Regions from separate parts of the Homo sapiens genome. Here region 1 is linked to region 2. Evidence: promoter capture Hi-C in human tissues and cell types (Jung and others, 2019). All regions are on one chromosome and are shown on one strand. The core of a region is centred on a gene start or on the middle of the fragment in contact, and the rest is flanking DNA. Distances in the headings are between cores, read along the strand shown. Region 1 overlaps PKD2 (polycystin 2, transient receptor potential cation channel). Region 2 holds the start of HERC6 (HECT and RLD domain containing E3 ubiquitin protein ligase family member 6).

The links. The method cuts DNA at HindIII sites, captures the fragments that hold promoters and counts their contacts. A contact is called where the count stands out against the background at its distance.
Region 1: a contact is called between a fragment that was not itself captured here and the fragment with the promoter of HERC6 in region 2, in 1 of the 25 tissues and cell types used here (mesenchymal stem cells).

What each region holds. Positions count from the first base shown.
Region 1 is chr4:88,036,994-88,041,234 of GRCh38, forward strand. PKD2 (polycystin 2, transient receptor potential cation channel) reads left to right here. Exons shown (of 15, transcript NM_000297.4): 4 at 1,258-1,508. Among named protein-coding and RNA genes, the nearest start is that of PKD2, 31 kb to the left of the region's middle. The HindIII fragment of the contact is 3,387 bases long and covers 80-3,466 here.
Region 2 is chr4:88,375,794-88,380,439 of GRCh38, forward strand. HERC6 (HECT and RLD domain containing E3 ubiquitin protein ligase family member 6) reads left to right here and starts at 3,059. Exons shown (of 23, transcript NM_017912.4): 1 at 3,059-3,327. The coding sequence starts at 3,129. RefSeq lists a silencer at 3,282-3,471 and an enhancer at 3,482-3,811. The HindIII fragment of the contact is 12,273 bases long and covers 330-4,646 here.

The DNA of each region.
Region 1 (4,241 bases), core at 523-3,022, 340 kb before region 2:
CAAGGCAGGAGGATTGCTTTAGCCCAGGATTTTGAAACCAGCTGGGCACAACATAGTATGACTTTGTCTCTCCAAAAAAGTTAAAGAATTAGCAGGGTGTGGTGGTACACACCTGCAGTCCCAGCTACTCAGGAGGCTGAGGTGGGAGAATCACTTGAGCGATTGCTTGAGGTCAAGGCTGCAGTGAGCCATGGCCATGCTACTGCATTCCAGCTGGGGCAACAGAGTGAGACCCTTTCTCAAAAAAAATCCCCCCCAAAAAAAAACCCAAAAACAAACAAAAAAGGTCTGCTGTTGTGAAGTTCAACCCAATCCAGCCCCTTCCCAAGTTGTCACAAATTCCAACGTAGTTAACAGTATACCAATGAGTGATACCACAGGAAAAATATTAAACTGATCTGAGGGATATGGGGCTTGGAATCTAAGAAAATTGGAAGGGAAATTGAAAAGGAAATTATTATTTCTCCTTGGGGAGATAGTTTCTAAAATTCTTACTACACCCTGGGGTCAGAGCTGTTGATTTTAAGGATAGAGACAACTGAGTCACAGGAAACTATTCATATATAAAAGTACCTGGCATCCAAAACCACACTTGTATAATATGAATCTTTCACCATCTGAGTAGGGCAAATCAGTCTATCTCTGTTGATCATCTGACAAGGATAGCACACTGAGAAATAGATCTGTCTTCCCTACAGGCATAGCTAGTTGTACAAACTAACAAGAGACTTTTGTATACACATTCCATGATGATAAATGCCAATCACTAAAGGGACGAGGAGGGATTGGAGAGTTCACCATACAGCAAAATAGTCCAGACAGGTGAAAGGTCTATCAAATGCCAGGCTGGTAATCAAAACTGTAGCCTTTTCTCTAAACAAAGTTTAGAACCATGATTGTGTGGGACATTATTTTAATAAGGGAAAGTGCAGTTAATCATGACCCCACCTTTAGTCCAAGAACAAAAATCAGAGCTGCCACGTATTAAGTACCCACTCTGTGCCAGGTGCAGTAACTATGCAAAAGATGGGTTTTCCAGATGCAAGAACCTTGGTTCAGAGGACCCTGCTCAAGGCCTCATAGCTAACAAATGATGGGGCAAGATGCTATCCCAAATCTCTCTGACAACAAAACTCATTCTTATCACTCTACTATTTTCATAGAGTTGCCAAATGCTTGGTTATGCAAACGATGCAGGCAGGGGCAAGACAGCGGCTGAGCTTGGAACTTTTTCAGAGATGTTTCCTTTGCTTTTAGTTCACAGAAGGCTCCTTATTGGATGGGCTGTACTGGAAGATGCAGCCCAGCAACCAGACTGAAGCTGACAACCGAAGTTTCATCTTCTATGAGAACCTGCTGTTAGGGGTTCCACGAATACGGCAACTCCGAGTCAGAAATGGATCCTGCTCTATCCCCCAGGACTTGAGAGATGAAATTAAAGAGTGCTATGATGTCTACTCTGTCAGTAGTGAAGATAGGGCTCCCTTTGGGCCCCGAAATGGAACCGCGTAAGTGTCTGTGACTCATTGCCACTCGGTGATATTCATTCATTTATTCTCTGAACTCCCACCATTCATTCATTCATTCCCTGACACCTTCACCAAGGCAAAAATAAGTTCAGTGACTCTTCAGTGCTTATATTTAAACCTTGGCCAACTTGACCTTTGACTTCTTAAGTTTTCACTACTTCTTAGCCTTCTTTTAGTTTCTACATGCATATTTTTCAGAAGACTAAATCGTTGACCATATAACCCCTCAAAAATTAATTATCTGAGCGTTTGAAAATTTCATTTAAGATGCCCTGGGCCCTGTTTTTACAGGTGCAGTAACATCATCCACTAAGTTATTTAACACAAGTTTTCTGGTTCAGGAACTCTTTTTATAGGTCTTGCAAACAGGTTTTTGTTCAGAATGGAGTTATTTAATGTGTAAGCTTGTGAGGCAATTTTTTGTTAGGTTTAAAGCCCATTTTGTTCAAATGTTTGAGATTTTAGGTATATATTTGTACACGTGCATATTTACAGGGGCTTTTTGTACACTTTGGTACTCCTACTTCAAACATCTTGTGTATTAAGGGAGGTCACTTACTATTTTAGAAGTATTGTAGTTATTATAAAGAAACAAGAAGACCTCCAAGGCCGTTTCAGGGTGGGCCTTTGCGGTTGCTGTCCCTGGGTACGTCACTGGTCGGAGTCATCTTCTAAGCTTTGCTCAGCTAATTCTGTCGGTTCATCTAGGTTCTTTTCTTGGAAACTGAGTTGCCCAGAATCCACATTTGTTACTATACAATGGGCAATCACCTTTTCAATTAGTATATTCTTCTTGTACCTTCCAGTATACACTCTATTTAATACCAGAACCCATAAGAAACAAATTTAGTAAAAATCCAGGTTGGGCACAGTTTCTCATGCCTGTAATCCCAGCACTTTGGAAAGCCAAGGCGGACAGATCACTTGAGGTCAGGAGTTCAAGACCAGCCTAGCCAACATGGTGAAACCCTGACTCTACTAAAAATACAAAAATTAGCTGGGTGTGGTGACATGTGCCTATAGTCACAGCTATTCGGGAGGCTGAGGCAGGAGAATTGCTTGAGCCCGAGTGGTGGGGGTTGCAGTGAGCTGAGGTCTCATCATTGCACTCCAGCCTGGGCAACAGAGCAAGACTCCCCCTCAAAAAAAAAAAAAAACAAATTTAGTGAAAATCCAGAGCTTTAGAACAAAGGAACTAAATAGTCTCAAAGGACATTATCATCCAAGTTATGATAGTGATTTCGCTTTCTTTAAAAAAAAAATTATTACAGATAGAGTTTCTTGATGTTGCCCAGGCTGGCCTCAAACTCCTGGGCTCAAGCAGTCCTCCAGCCTCAGCCTCCCAAGTAGCTGGGACTATGAGAATATGCCACCATGCCCAGCTTTATTTTGCTTTCTAATGTGCCTTTTTGTAGTTCCTGCAAAGCATAAGCATGCCTTCATCTGTGGTACCCTTTCCAATATTTTATTTATCTCACATCACTAATAAGATAAATTTATACAGCCACTGCTCTGTGCCAGACATTATTTAAGAAGTTATTTCACGCATTATCTCATCTGCCTTCACAAAACAACTCTAAAATAGGTATCACCTCCATTTTATAGATGAAAAAACTGAGGCTCACTTGCCCAAAGTGTCACAGCTAACAAATTGGACTGAACCAAGATTTAAGCAGCCTGACTCCAAAACCCATGTTTCGCCTACTAAACCTCTTCCATATTAATTCCTCCTCCATATTAATTGCGTCGTTAGGGTGGCTTGTCGACGCTCTCAGCTCCCCATCAGTACTCAAGCTTCCTGAGGGCAGGGATTCTATTTTGTTAACTGCTGTATTCTCAAAGCCTTGAACAATGCCTCATATGTAAAGATACTAATAAATATGTGCTGGATGCATTCGAGTGATTTCTACTCCAGGGTGGATTGCCAAAGGGGACCTTCCCTGTCATATCTAAACTATCCTTTTATTCTTCTACATTCTCAAGTCACTCCCATTTCTTCTTCCCTTCAACTCCAAACTTCTTGGAAGAATAGTCTTCATTTGCCACTTCCATTTCCTTACCATCAATTCACGTCTTAAAGCTTAGGTTCTTGCTTTTGACATCTCACCAGGAAGCTACTAGGGACCTCTAGTTAGCAAATCCACTGAACAAATCTCAGTTTTTATCCCCTTCATACTGTCTGCAGAAAGTGGCAGTGTTGACCGCTCATTCTTTTGACTTCCATGAAGAACTCTACACTTTGGGTTCTTTTAACTCTGAAACCCCTTTCTCTCACTTCTCTTATTCCCAGGTTCTATATTCATATCTCCGTCTTTTCTTTCTTTTCTCTCTTTCCCATGACATTCAGATGGCTTCCACTGACATCTTTATTTGGTGACTCATCATTTCTTCAACAATGTGCCAGGCATGTTCCCATTGCTAGAAGTCCCCCCTCTTCTAGTAGTGCCCTTGATGCTGGAGAAACAAAGCAGCAGGAAACAGAAGAAACGTCCTTTCTTCACAGAGCTTGCATTCTAGTGATACAAGACACATCTCTATTCCACCTGGATGTCCCACACCTCTTGTGATTTAATATGCCCCAAACTAAACTCATCGTTTTCTTATGAGATCTGCTCTTTGTTCTGTTAATGGCACTGCCGTCTTCCTATTGCCCTGAAAGAGACTCCAGAGTCATTTTTGAGCCATGTTTCCTCCTTGCCCCAACTTCCAAAT
Region 2 (4,646 bases), core at 1,809-4,308:
TTTTTTTTTTTTTTTTTTTTGAGATAGGGTCTGGCTCTGTCGCCCAGGCTGGAGTGCAGTGGCACGATCTGGGCTCACTGCACCTTCCACCTCCCAGGCTCCGGGCTCAAGCAATCCTCCCACCTCAGCCTCCCACGTAGCTGGGACTACAGGTATGTGCCACTGCACCCAGCTATTTTTTGTAAAGATGGGGTTTCACCATGTTGCCCAGGCTGGTCTCCAACTCCTGAGCTCAAGCGATCCTCCCATCTCGGCCTCCTAAAGTGCTAGGATTATAGGCATGAGCCACTGTGCCTAGCCCAAGATAAATTATTTAAGGCGATAGATATCCCAATTTGATAATGTGTCAAATTATCATATGTACCCCCAAAACATGTGCATCTATTATGTATCAATAAAAGATTTTTTAGGCCAAGAGTGGTGGCTCACGCCTGTAATCCCAGCACTTTGGGAGGCTGAGGCAGGCGGATCACTTGAGGTTAGAAGTTCGAGATCAGCCTGGCCAACATGGTGAAACCCTATCTCTACGAAAAATACAAAAATTAGCCAGGTGTGATAGTGCCCGCCTGTAATCTGAGCTGTTCAGGAGGCTGAGGCAGGAGAATCGCTTGAATCGGGGAGGTGGAGGTTGCAGTGAGCTGAGATCGTGCCACTACACTCCAGCCTGGGTGGCAAAGCGAGACTCTGTCTCAAAAAAAAATTTTTTTTTAAAGAAATAACTTAATTTGAGGGCTCAGTATCTTATGGTAATAATACCAAACTCCTACATTTTGTGCTTGAGAAAAGAAATAAACATTAAGAAATTACTATTCAGAAAAAGGTTATATTTGGTATACAGCAAAACAGAACCAGAAATACTAATACTATCCACTGACTCACTACTCATCAATCCAATTGTCCGACATACCCTTATTAGCATCTACCAAGTTCCAGGTACTCTTGAGGTAGAAAAATAAAGAACATTTGTTCTTCTCTTTAAAGAACTTGAAACATGGTCATGAAGAGTGGTGAATTGAAATTACATAAATAGGTTCTGTAATAGTTTCTTTTAAAAAAAAATCAATAATGCTGATGATGGCTAACATTATCAAAGTTACCAAATCTAAAAACCAGTGCTCAGCGGGACATGGTGGCCTATAATCACAGCACTTTGGAAGGCTGAGGTAGGCAGATCATCTGAGGTCAGGAGTTCAAGACCAGCCTGGGCAACATGATGAAACCCCATCTCTTCAAAAAATACAAAAGTTAGCTGGGCGTAGTGGCACGTGCCTGTAGTCCCGCTACTTGGGAGGCTAAGGCGGGAGGATTGCTTGAACCTGGGAGGCGGAGGTTGCTGTGAGTTGAGATCACGCCATTGCACTCCAGCCTGGGCATCAAGAGCGGAAACTCTATCTCAAACAAACAAACAAATAAATAAATAAAAATCAGTGCTCAATCCTTACCTTGCTCCACAAGAAATTGACAGAGTTGATCCTTCCTTTATTCGTTACTTGCTCTGTCTATAACTCCTCCTCCTGGTTTTCCTCCTATGATCAGTCCTCTAGCCTCTGCTATACTGTCACCACATTCACCCCCTGGGTGTTCTCATTCAGCCATCTGGCTTTAAGCATCACCTCTACACTGATGGCTCCCAATTTTCTGACTACACCCAAGCTTCTCTCTACAACTCCAAAACAGTTTATCCTATTGCCTTCTTGATTAACAAGCATCTTACAGTTATCATTACCAATCTGTATTCCAGACACACATAGCTTAAACCTGCACCTTCCTCAGGGTTTCCCAGTCCAGTAGAGTTTACCTTGGAGTAACCCCTAAAGCCAACCCTGGAGTAATCCCTAATCCCTTTTCTTCTTTCCCCCCAATTTCTAATCCATCATCAAATCTGTGGACTCTTACTTTCAAAACATGTCTTGAATCTAATAACTTCTCCTCTCTTCCCTTCTAGGATATCACCTGACCTGAACTCTGAAGTAGTCTCTGCTAACTGGCTTTCTGCTTCCATTTTTGTCCTATTATTTTTCACACAGCAGCCAGATGAATCTTTAAAAACTGAAGTCAGATCATGGCTCTTCTCTATTCAAAACCTTCCAACTGCTTCTTTTCATCCTCTGCCCTCAGGTGTGATCACGACTCATTCCCTCATTTCCCATGTCCCCTCAGCTCTCTGCACAAATATCACTTCATCAGAGAGATCTTCCCTAATATCATCTCAAATACCAGTGCCTTCCGCCTCCACCCTCTGGTTCCTGTTGTATTTTTCGTTGCCCCTTGATATTACACTATGTGTTTATCTGTTTATGTTCTCTTTCCCTCAGGAGAATGTAAACGCATCAAGAGGATCTTGTCTTTCACTAATTGTATTTTCAGGCGGGGCCCAGAGGCTCACGCCTGTAATCCCTGCACTTTGGAAAGCTGAGGGGTGGATCACTTGAGGTCAGGAGTTCGAGACCAGCCTGGCCAACATGGTGAAACCCCATCTTTACTAAAAATACAAAAATTAAGTCGGGCGTCGTGGCGCATGCCTGTAATCCCACCTACTCGGGAGGCCGAGGCAAGAGAATCAGCTTGAACCCGTGAGGTGGAGGTTGCAGTGAGCCGAGATGGTGCCACTGCACTCCAGCCTGAGCAGCAGAGCGACACTCCATCTCAAACAAACAAACAAACAAACAAACAAAAAACAAACATATTTTCAATGCCAAAAAAGGTCTGGAATGAGGTGGGCACTCAGATGCTTTATTAACCACTCTAGGTATTATTCTAACACTTTATGTGCCTATTAAATTATCCCGACATATTAGATTTGCTGAATTGCAGTCCATATTTCGTAGATATGATAGCTGAAGCACGGAATCATTAGGTAACTTGCCCAAAGTGGCATTCACGACTCATAAATGGCTTAGGATGTAAACTCAGTTTTATTCCCTGGGACGCCCTCTCTGCTCTTCAGCACTTGAAGTTCAGGCAGCGAGAGTTGACATGGGGCCAGGGCTGCGCCCCTGGGGCGGGTTGAAGACAGGGTGAGTCTCTTGATATTCAGGAAATCATCGCGCACCCAGTCACCAGCGTTCGGGAGCCTGTCGCAGCGGGACCGACGGAATCCGGAGCAGGCGACAGGGCGCAGAAGCGGGATGTACTTCTGTTGGGGCGCCGACTCCAGGGAGCTGCAGCGCCGGAGGACGGCGGGCAGCCCCGGGGCTGAGCTACTGCAGGCGGCCAGCGGGGAGCGCCACTCTCTGCTGCTGCTGACCAACCACAGGGTCCTCTCGTGCGGAGACAACAGCAGGGGTCAGCTGGGCCGCAGGGGCGCGCAGCGCGGGGAGCTGCCAGGTGAGCGGGGGGCCCCAGGTGCAGGGTGTGAGGACCCCAGTACATGGGCGCGGGGGCTTGGGTACCGGGCGCAGGGAACCGGGTGCGGAGCGCTGGGACCCGGGTGAGGGGCGCGGGGGCCCAGGTGCAGGGAGCGGCTCAGATGCTGGGCGCCGCGGGCCAGGCAGGGAGGGGTGCTGGGAGCCTTGGATTCCTCGGGGCCCGAAGAGCCACAGGAACCAGGAAAATGGTGCCCTGTGCTACCGAAGAGCAACTTCCTCAGTTTCGTTTTCCCAACGCCCCTCGGATTTGTTTCGGTTTCCAATTCAAGTTCAAAGCGAAACTGAGAGCCGAAACTAACCTGGTCAGCGCTGCTCTGGAAAGAGATGTGGTCCCTCCGGCTTGCCTTGCAGATAAATCCTCGCCTGCGCGGTTCTACCTGGAGAAGGCAGCCTGACCTTACAAACGTGGTTTGTGGGTCAGACACCTGTATCTCCCTTAGAAATACACTGGGGCATTAAAAAATATATATATATAAAAATATATATATAAAATATATAAATATATATAATATATAAATATATACAAATATATAATATATAAATATATAATATATAAATATATATAATATATAAATATATAAATATATAACATATAAATATATATAATATATAAATATATATATAACATATAAATATATATAATATATAAATATATATATAACATATAAATATATATAATATATAAATATATATATAGCATATAAATATATATAATATATAAATATATATATAATATATAAATATATATAATATATAAATATATATAATATATAAATATATATATAATATATAAATATATATAATATATAAATATATATAATATATAAATATATATATAATATATAAATATATATAATATATAAATATATATAATATATAAATATATATATAATATATAAATATATATAATATATAAATATATATAATATATAAATATATATATAATATATAAATATATATAATATATAAATATATATAATATATAAATATATATAATATATAAATATATATATAATATATAAATATATATATAATATAAATATATATATAATATATAAATATATAATATATAAATATATATAATATATAAATATATAATATATAAATATATATAATATATAAATATATAATATATAAATATATATATAATATATAAATATATATATAATATATAAATATATATATAATATAAATATATATATAATATATAAATATATATATATAATATATAAATATATATATATAATATATAAATATATATATATACACATAATAGGC